Regions from separate parts of the Homo sapiens genome. Here region 2 is linked to region 1. Evidence: promoter capture Hi-C in 16 types of primary human blood cells and fetal thymus (Javierre and others, 2016). All regions are on one chromosome and are shown on one strand. Each heading gives the region's core, a stretch centred on a gene start or on the middle of the fragment in contact. The rest is flanking DNA. Distances are from core to core; before and after follow the strand shown.

Evidence for each region. The method cuts DNA at HindIII sites, captures the fragments that hold promoters and counts their contacts. A CHiCAGO score of 5 or more calls a contact.
Region 2: a contact is called between a fragment that was not itself captured here and the fragment with the promoter of IL12A in region 1, in 5 of 17 cell types (monocytes, M1 macrophages, M0 macrophages and 2 more). The highest score is 8.6, in monocytes.

Annotation. Positions count from the first base shown.
Region 1 is chr3:159,986,018-159,990,087 of GRCh38, forward strand. IL12A (interleukin 12A) reads left to right here and starts at 2,818. Exons shown (of 7, transcript NM_001397992.1): 1 at 2,818-3,157. The coding sequence starts at 3,142. It overlaps IL12A-AS1 (IL12A antisense RNA 1), which reads right to left. Exons shown (of 10, transcript NR_108088.1): 9 at 3,080-3,276. RefSeq lists enhancers at 477-1,676, 2,528-3,028, 3,029-3,529, 3,029-3,078 and silencers at 2,589-2,788, 2,859-2,908. The HindIII fragment of the contact is 5,775 bases long and covers 431-4,070 here.
Region 2 is chr3:159,876,459-159,880,528 of GRCh38, forward strand. The region is part of intron 5 of IQCJ-SCHIP1 (IQCJ-SCHIP1 readthrough); the gene reads left to right. The region is part of intron 3 of SCHIP1 (schwannomin interacting protein 1); the gene reads left to right. Among named protein-coding and RNA genes, the nearest start is that of IQCJ-SCHIP1-AS1, 110 kb to the left of the region's middle. The HindIII fragment of the contact is 1,581 bases long and covers 1,042-2,622 here.

The sequences.
Region 1 (4,070 bases), core at 1,568-4,067:
AAGGCCAGGAACAGCAGCTCACGCCTGTAATCCCAGCACTTTGGGAGGCCAAGGTGGGTGGATCACTTGAGCCCAGGAGTTTGAGACCAGCCTAGGCAACAAAACTAGACTCCGTCTCTACAAAATACAAAAATAAAAATTAGCTGGACATGATGGTGTTGCCTGTGGTCCAAGCTACTCAGGAGGCTGAAGTGGGAGGATCACTTTAGCCCAGGAGGTCAAGGCTGCAGTGAGCTGTGACTGTGCCACCACTACACTCCAGCCTGGGTGATACAGTAAAACCATGTCTCAAAAAAAATTTTTTTAACTTAGTCATAGATTTTATTACATCTGTATTTTAGAGTAGGCTTATTATTAAGTTTCTGAGAAAATTTATTTGTAGCTTGTATTGGAATTACATTGAGCATGTGAATTAACGAAAAGAGGCTTAAGCTTTCTATATAGAGAAACCTTCCACCCAAGGGTATAGAATTATTTAATTAAATCACACTATATTCTTGACTGAACTTTAAAATTTTTCTCCAAACACTATTCTGTAGTTATCCAAGCTCATGTAATAATCATAATAACTCTATACTGTAGGTACTTTTATTATCATCATTTAACAGATGAGGAAACTGAGCCCAGAGAGATAAATAACTCACCTAAGAACACACAGCAAGTAAGTAGCAGAACCTGGATTAACATAGTTTAGTCCATACTCTTAGCCATTATACTGCCTCTGTATCTACAGTCAGTTACTTTATAGTTTGGCTGCTTCTATGCATGTCATCTTGTTTTTATTACATTTTCTGATGGATTGTTGCAGATACAAAGAAAATCGGCTGATTTTTTTTAAGTTGATATGTGTATTGCATGATGTTGTTAAATTCTCTTCTTAGTTCTAATAGTCTATTAATTTTTTTTCTTTTTGTATATCAACTGTAAAAAGTGACAGTTTTACCTTTTCTTTTCCAATGTTTAAAGCTCTCATTTCTTTTTCTTTCCTTATAGCATTGGCCGAGACCTCCACGACAATGCTACACACTGTGAAGTAGTGATTGTGAGCTAAGACTGTCACTTATAGAAAAATCATGTATTCCTAGAAGAAGGTTTTCATTTCATCTTAGCTAGAGGACATGGAGCACTTCAGGAAACTATTTCACAAAAATGTAAATTAGAAACTGTGTCTGGTAGCCAATAATCCATTTTTAACAGTGGCCCTGTGCTCATCTAAGCAACAGAAATTACTTTTGTATAGGAGATGGCCCTTCCAGGGGAGAAACAGCTCAGTTGTGATACACTTGTCTTCATCCTGACTTTAAGTACATTTAACTCCACACTAAACCCTTGTGGCCACAACACAGCTCTGCACCTGTCATTTGCTCTAGACAAACTGCTAAACGCAATTGTTTCTGACAATGGATTACTCTGTATCCCGTGGGGGAATTCTCAGACAGCAGCATTAGAAGGGGCCTTAGAGATCAACCATTTCTCTTATTTTACACACACCTAAAACTCCCTACAGCCGTGCTTCATCAGCTTCGAGCAGATGAGCCACCCAGAAGGCAGCTCCAGTTATTAGGTCCTAGGGCCTGGGTGTAGTCAGGCCCTTTGGAAGCTCCAAGTCAGAGATCAAACACATCCTCCCCACTACCCACGCCTAGGGTGACTAATGCCTGTGGGAAAAACAACTGAACTAAAAAGTCCCACAGGAACCTCAAACCCAGCACATCCAAAATGGAACTTCTCACCATCTCCTCCAAACTCAGTCCTCTTATACAGTAATCCCTGTAAAGCTAGAACAATCTCCATTCCCCATTCTCAGGGCCTTCCTCTCCCGCTCACCTGAGGAGCTACCAAGCCTTGGCCCACAAGCCCTCTGAGAGTCCCTCCTGCCCACCCTGTGTTCTCCATACTGAATAAGGACTTGGCCACACCTTGTCAACTCTTCCCTCTGCTCTACTCCTGACCCCTGGATCCATCCTTCATGCTGTGGCTGAAGGGATCCCCCCATCATGCAAATTCTGCCACATCTCCCGCCTAAAACCCAGGAAGACTCCCCACTACTCTCAGCACAGAAAGTACACTCCTTAGTATGGCATCCCCTGCCCTCATGGCATGGCCCCATCCAGCCCTCCAGCCTCACACCCTGCAAGGACACCTAGACCCCCACCTCCCTCAACCCTTCATGACTGCGCTTCTGATCCCTGTTTCCCCTGGCTAGACCCTGCGTGCCCTCCCGCTGGAAGCGGTCTAATGCCTGCTTGTTTTTAACACTCAGGTTGGGGCCCCTGCCTGCTCCCGGGAGCCTTTGCTGACTCCTGGACCCCGTTGCTCCGGCTGAGCGTGGGCTCTTTCTCTAGGTCTTTCCTCCCAGGACTCTGTGTATTCATCCTATCGTTAAACTGGATTCTCTACAAGAGTAATAATTGCAGAGTCAGCCAGCTCTCATCCCTTTTCAGGTTTCAGAAAAGACCTGTGAACAAAACGCCTTGAGTCTGATTTAGTGTGGCAATGCCCCAAGGGTCCTGTTCTCCCTGGGTGTCCTGCACCTGGTGCAACGTCGGCCTGGCATCTAGTGAGCCATCTAAAGGAACGATGATGAGTGAATGATTTGCCTACCCCTTCCAGTACTAGGCTGGAGGTCGTGGTTAGGGCCCATCCCTACGCAGGACATGCAAAGTGGGAGGCACTCCTCTCTCTACGTCGGCAGGGGGCGCTGCACAGCTGCGGGGCGGGGTAGCTTAGACACGGGGCGTCCGGCTAAGGCCGGGGACCCAGGGTGGTGGGCGGGGTGTCCCGCCCGCCTGTGGACCCCGCGCAGTAACTGCGAACATTTCGCTTTCATTTTGGGCCGAGCTGGAGGCGGCGGGGCCGTCCCGGAACGGCTGCGGCCGGGCACCCCGGGAGTTAATCCGAAAGCGCCGCAAGCCCCGCGGGCCGGCCGCACCGCACGTGTCACCGAGAAGCTGATGTAGAGAGAGACACAGAAGGAGACAGAAAGCAAGAGACCAGAGTCCCGGGAAAGTCCTGCCGCGCCTCGGGACAATTATAAAAATGTGGCCCCCTGGGTCAGCCTCCCAGCCACCGCCCTCACCTGCCGCGGCCACAGGTCTGCATCCAGCGGCTCGCCCTGTGTCCCTGCAGTGCCGGCTCAGCATGTGTCCAGCGCGCAGTGAGTACTCAGCCCGCCAGGTCTTTGGCTCGCTCGGGTGCGGAGGGGCGGCTGCTTGGGAAGAGTGGGTAGAAACTCAAGTCTGCCTAAGGAGAGACTGGAACAGCAGCAGCCGTCTCCTGCAAAGAGGAATAAGAATAGGGGTCTCACCGTGTGCTAAATAGGGCATGTCTCTTTTCATCTCGAAACAGCCTGATGAGCTATCATTATGCCCACTTCGTAGAGGAGAAACTGAGGCCCAGCGTGGGAGATTTCCTGCTTTCCTGCCTAGGGTCCCTCAGCTACAAACAGAAGGCAGATCCTAGCCAGTTCTAAAGTCAGGCTTGGCCGGGTGCAATGGCTCACGCCTGTAATCCCAGCACTTTGGGAGGCCAAGGCGGACAGATCTCCTGAGGTCAGGAGTTCAAGACCAGCCTGACCAACATGGTGAAACCCCGTCTCTACTAACAAATACACAAATTAGCCGAGTGTGGTGGTGGGTGCCTGTAATCCCATCTACTCGGGAGTCTAAGGCAGGGAAAATTGCTTGAACTCGGAGGTGGAGGTTGCAGTGAGCCAAAATCGTGCCACTGCACTCCAGTCTGGGCCACAGAGTGAGACTCCGTCTTAAAAAAACAAAAAAAGTCAGGCTTTCTCACTCCACTGTTTTTAAAACACTGGGTCCCAAGTCTGACTCAGCCACTTCACCACCTGGTCTGGGTTTCCCTGATCAAAAACATGTAGGCTTTCTCTGGGTGAGTGTTGGGTTCAACACCCTTGTCCAAGCTCATCTCTAGACCCTCACAGGGAGCTGGCTTCTAGCCCTAGAATAGAGTGGCGCTTTGTAATAACTCGAGTCATCTCTCAGGTGTTGAAGGAAAAGTGTTGGAAATGGGTTGAGGGAGGTGGGTGCCAAGCATGAATGGATGGGTGA
Region 2 (4,070 bases), core at 582-3,081, 110 kb before region 1:
TACTGTGAGGAAGACCAGCAAAGCACTCAGAAGAGTGCCTGGACGAGAGTCAGTGCTGCATTAGTAGGTGCTGCTACAGTATTTCGTTATCCTTTTTATTTACTCTTAGACACCATTGATTGTAAGACAAATAGTTATTTTATGTACCACTAAAAAAGAAAAACTACTGCCATTTAAACGGTGACACATGCCTTCTTAACACTTAGAGTTTTTATTTTAGTTATTGAAAGAGTAATTTTAGACTTGTTTGGACATACGCTTTTATCATATGTTTCTTGTGCACAAAAAGAGGAAGAAAAGGTGAAACATGTTGGCAAATGTAGTCCTAAACTTTCCAGCTCTCCACTTAACCACTTTACCTGAGAGCTGCCATGTCTCAGCTTTTGGGCCATCGGGAGATGGAGTGCATCACCTTCCAAGCCATCGTCCCCCCATCTGCAAGGTTTGATGCTGGAGCTTTGTTGTTCTTGTCAGAAGGCATGAGTGGACAACCAGTGCCCACCTCCTCCTTGGGGATTATTACCTGGTTTGTGGGCTGATAGAGTTAAGTACTGCAATCATGCCACCACCTACCTGAGGTACAGCAGCTGAGATACATCCCTATTTTAGGCTGGGAGCAGTGGCTCACGCCTGTAATCCCAGCACTTTAGGAGGCCAAGGCAGGTGGATCACCTGAGGTCAGGAGTTCAAGATCAGCACAGCCAACATGATGAAACCCCCATCTCTACTAAAAATACAAAAATTAGCCAGGAGTGGTGGCGGGCGCCTATAATCCCAGCTACTCAGGAGGCTGAGGCAGGAGAATCGCTTTAACCCTGGAGGCAGAGGTTGCAGTGAGCCGAGATCACCCCATTGCACTCCAGCCTGGGTGACAAGAGCGAAACTCTGTTTCAAAGAATAAAAAATAAAGACTGCAAAATGTAAATAACCATGCTTCATAGAATCAATGCAATCTTATTGATCCACTGCATTCTTTTTCACGACTGCGTAGAATTCAAACAGTCACAAACTAAATCATGAAAGCCAGTGTTTTTGAGATGAAGCTTACCATGGAACCAAGCCTAAATGGTGGCCCCAAAATGTTTCTAAACATGAACATAAAAAGTGGTAAAGCAGTGCTTTAATGGTCAAAAGAATAAAAGAATTTGCAATTAAGATTTTCGCCTACTTCAGGAATATGCCTCAGAAACACACACAGGCACTGACTCTCCGCTGTCATGTTTTTTACCCAGTCCGCATGAACATTTTCAAAGGTCTGGAAGGGGAAAAGTATTTCTTCTCTAACCTTCATTGCCTCAACAGCTGAAACTCATCAGCAGGTGGGGTAGATAGGTGTTTAAACTCTGTCTGAGCTGAGCAGAATAAATAGGCAGCCTGGCTTTAAAAATACAAACAGTTAAATTTATATCAATTACGTTAGAGTCTGTAATTTACTGCAGATCCAAGGAGGAGAATGAAATCAAGACTGGATTGAGGAGGGATGTCAACAGTTGAATCAGAGTCCATCCACAGAAATGTTCTCTTATAAGAAAATATGTTTCTTGCTGCCCACGGATCTCCCACCACCTCCAGCACCCTGCCAAAAACAAAAGTCCCTGCATAGACATGGCTGAGTCAGACACACAGCCATCCTCTTCCAGCCATCAAACACTGATCTGCTCACCTTTTCTCCAACACACAAATGCTAATCATCAACTCGGTCATGTTCTTTCCTTTTCTTTTTTAAATTCTTGCCAAGGCCGGGCGCAGTGACTCATGCCTGTAATCCCAGCACTTTGGGAGGCCAAGGCAGGTGGATCACATGAGGTCAGTAGTTCGGGACCAGCCTGGCCAACATGGTGAAACCCTGTCTCTACTAAAAATGCAAAAGATAGCTGGCTGGGTATGGTGGCGGGTGCTTGTAGTCCAAGCTACTCGGGAGGCTGAGGCAGGAGTATCGCTTGAACCCAGGAGGCGGAGGTTGCAGTGAGCCAAGATTGCACCCCTGCACTCCAGCCTGGGCAACAGAGTGAGACTCTGTCTCAAAAAAATAAAAATAGGCCGGGCGCGGTGGCTCACGCCTGTAATCCCAGCACTTTGGGAGGCCGAGGCGGGCGAATCACGAGGTCAGGAGATCGAGACCATCCCGGCTAAAACGGTGAAACCCCGTCTCTACTAAAAATACAAAAAATTAGCCGGGCGTAGTGGCGGGCGCCTGTAGTCCCAGCTACTTGGGAGGCTGAGGCAGGAGAATGGCATGAACCCGGGAGGCGGAGCTTGCAGTGAGCCGAGATCCCGCCACTGCACTCCAGCCTGGGCGACAGAGCGAGACTCCGTCTCAAAAAAAAAATAAAATAAAATAAAAAAATAAAAAAATAAAAAATAAAAAATAAATAAAAATAAATAAATTCCTGCCAAATGCCCATATGTAGCACCTCAGAGGTGCTCAAAAGAGGAAAATCCAAAGCCAACTGAAACTCTTTCACCAAAAAAAAAAAAGATGTATTTCCTGACTTTTTTTCTATGCATATATCTCCATATTTTTGTTTATAAAATTGGAATTATAGCATAGGTACTGTTTTTAGCCTTCTTTCTTTTACTTAACAGTCGGAAACTTTCATCCAATCTAATAATATTGGACTAAGCTTACTCATAAGATTCATCTAATGTAATAATATTGGACTAATCTTATTCATAAGATTAGTATTTCTACTAGCTGCAGAATAGCCCATCATATATTTCACCATAATATACTTTATCAATCTTTTATTATTAGGCATTTAAGTTGTTGCCAGCTTTTTGTTTTGGTTTTGTTTTTGTTTTGCTTTCTTTCTTTTTTTTTTCTTTCTTCTCTTTTTTTCTACCATTAATGAATTTGTTTCCTCCTTTTTAAAGTGCTCTGACATCTCAAGACGGACTTTCCTAAAGTATCAGTGTTGTGATATTGTGTAATTTAACCTCTCTGAGCCGTTTTCTCATATGTGAAACAGGGTTCACAGTGCCTGCTTCATGTGTATCTGAGGGTTAGACATAAAATAGTAAAATGCCTGGCACTTAGTAGATGCTCAAAAACAGTAACTTTTAATTTCAGAATACAGATTACTTGGAAATTACTTGGCCTTATTTAACATGGAAGTAGATAACATTTGCTGCCTACGAGAGATGGCTGTTTTATTCCTCGTATCAGAAGAGGCCTCGTTCTGGTCTTTCATTCATGCTAGAGAACATTTCAGTTGAAAATGCATTTTCCCAACATTAAGATCCTATAATTCCAAATTTAATTACATGAAAGTGGTCATTAGTGAAGGAAATGGACACTGATGTAGAATTAGAACCAACAGCCGTCTGAGGAATGCAAGTATTTATAGCTCTCTGGAGATTCGGGTTAGGATACAGGGGCGATGTTTCTCCAAAGAAAAGCTGGTGAGTGATAGTTTCCCTTTTCTATTAGTTGCCTAAGTCAGTGAGGAGATTCTGTGGCTATGTGGTGCCACAGAATGGCCGGTGTGCTTACCAGCCATCATGTGAACATGTACAGATGGAAGGGTCCAGAACTAGTCTTAGAAGAGCAAGCAGAAAAAAGAAAGTATGCATAAGATTAGGAGGAGAAAACCCAGAGAGGGTCATTCACACTCCAACTACCTTTGGAGCTGCCTTCATCAGCTTCTGCTGAGGAAGCCGAACACCTGAGTCCTGTAAGGTGGGGATCAGGACAGGATATAAAGAGACATAATGTCCTCCCCAGTCCTCTCTTTGGCATATAGTTGGAAACTACCCATAACTTCTCTGGGCACATAACTACTGGAGGGTCAGCTTTTCTATCTCTCTCCTGTATTTATTCCGCCCAACCTCAGTTCACCAAGACCTCCTTCCTTTTGCAGTTTTCTGCTCTTTCACTCTTCTGGTTAACACCTTATTAATGTCCAGGTAGCAAAAGTATTTTCCATATATAAGACAGGGAGATTCTACTAAGTGTTTCTTGAGGTCCCTTCCAATGCTCTGTGTATTCCACATTTCTATTTATACATTGTGACTTAATGATCCAAGCACTTGATATCTGTTAGAAGACCTAGTTTTTATTTGCATCACTT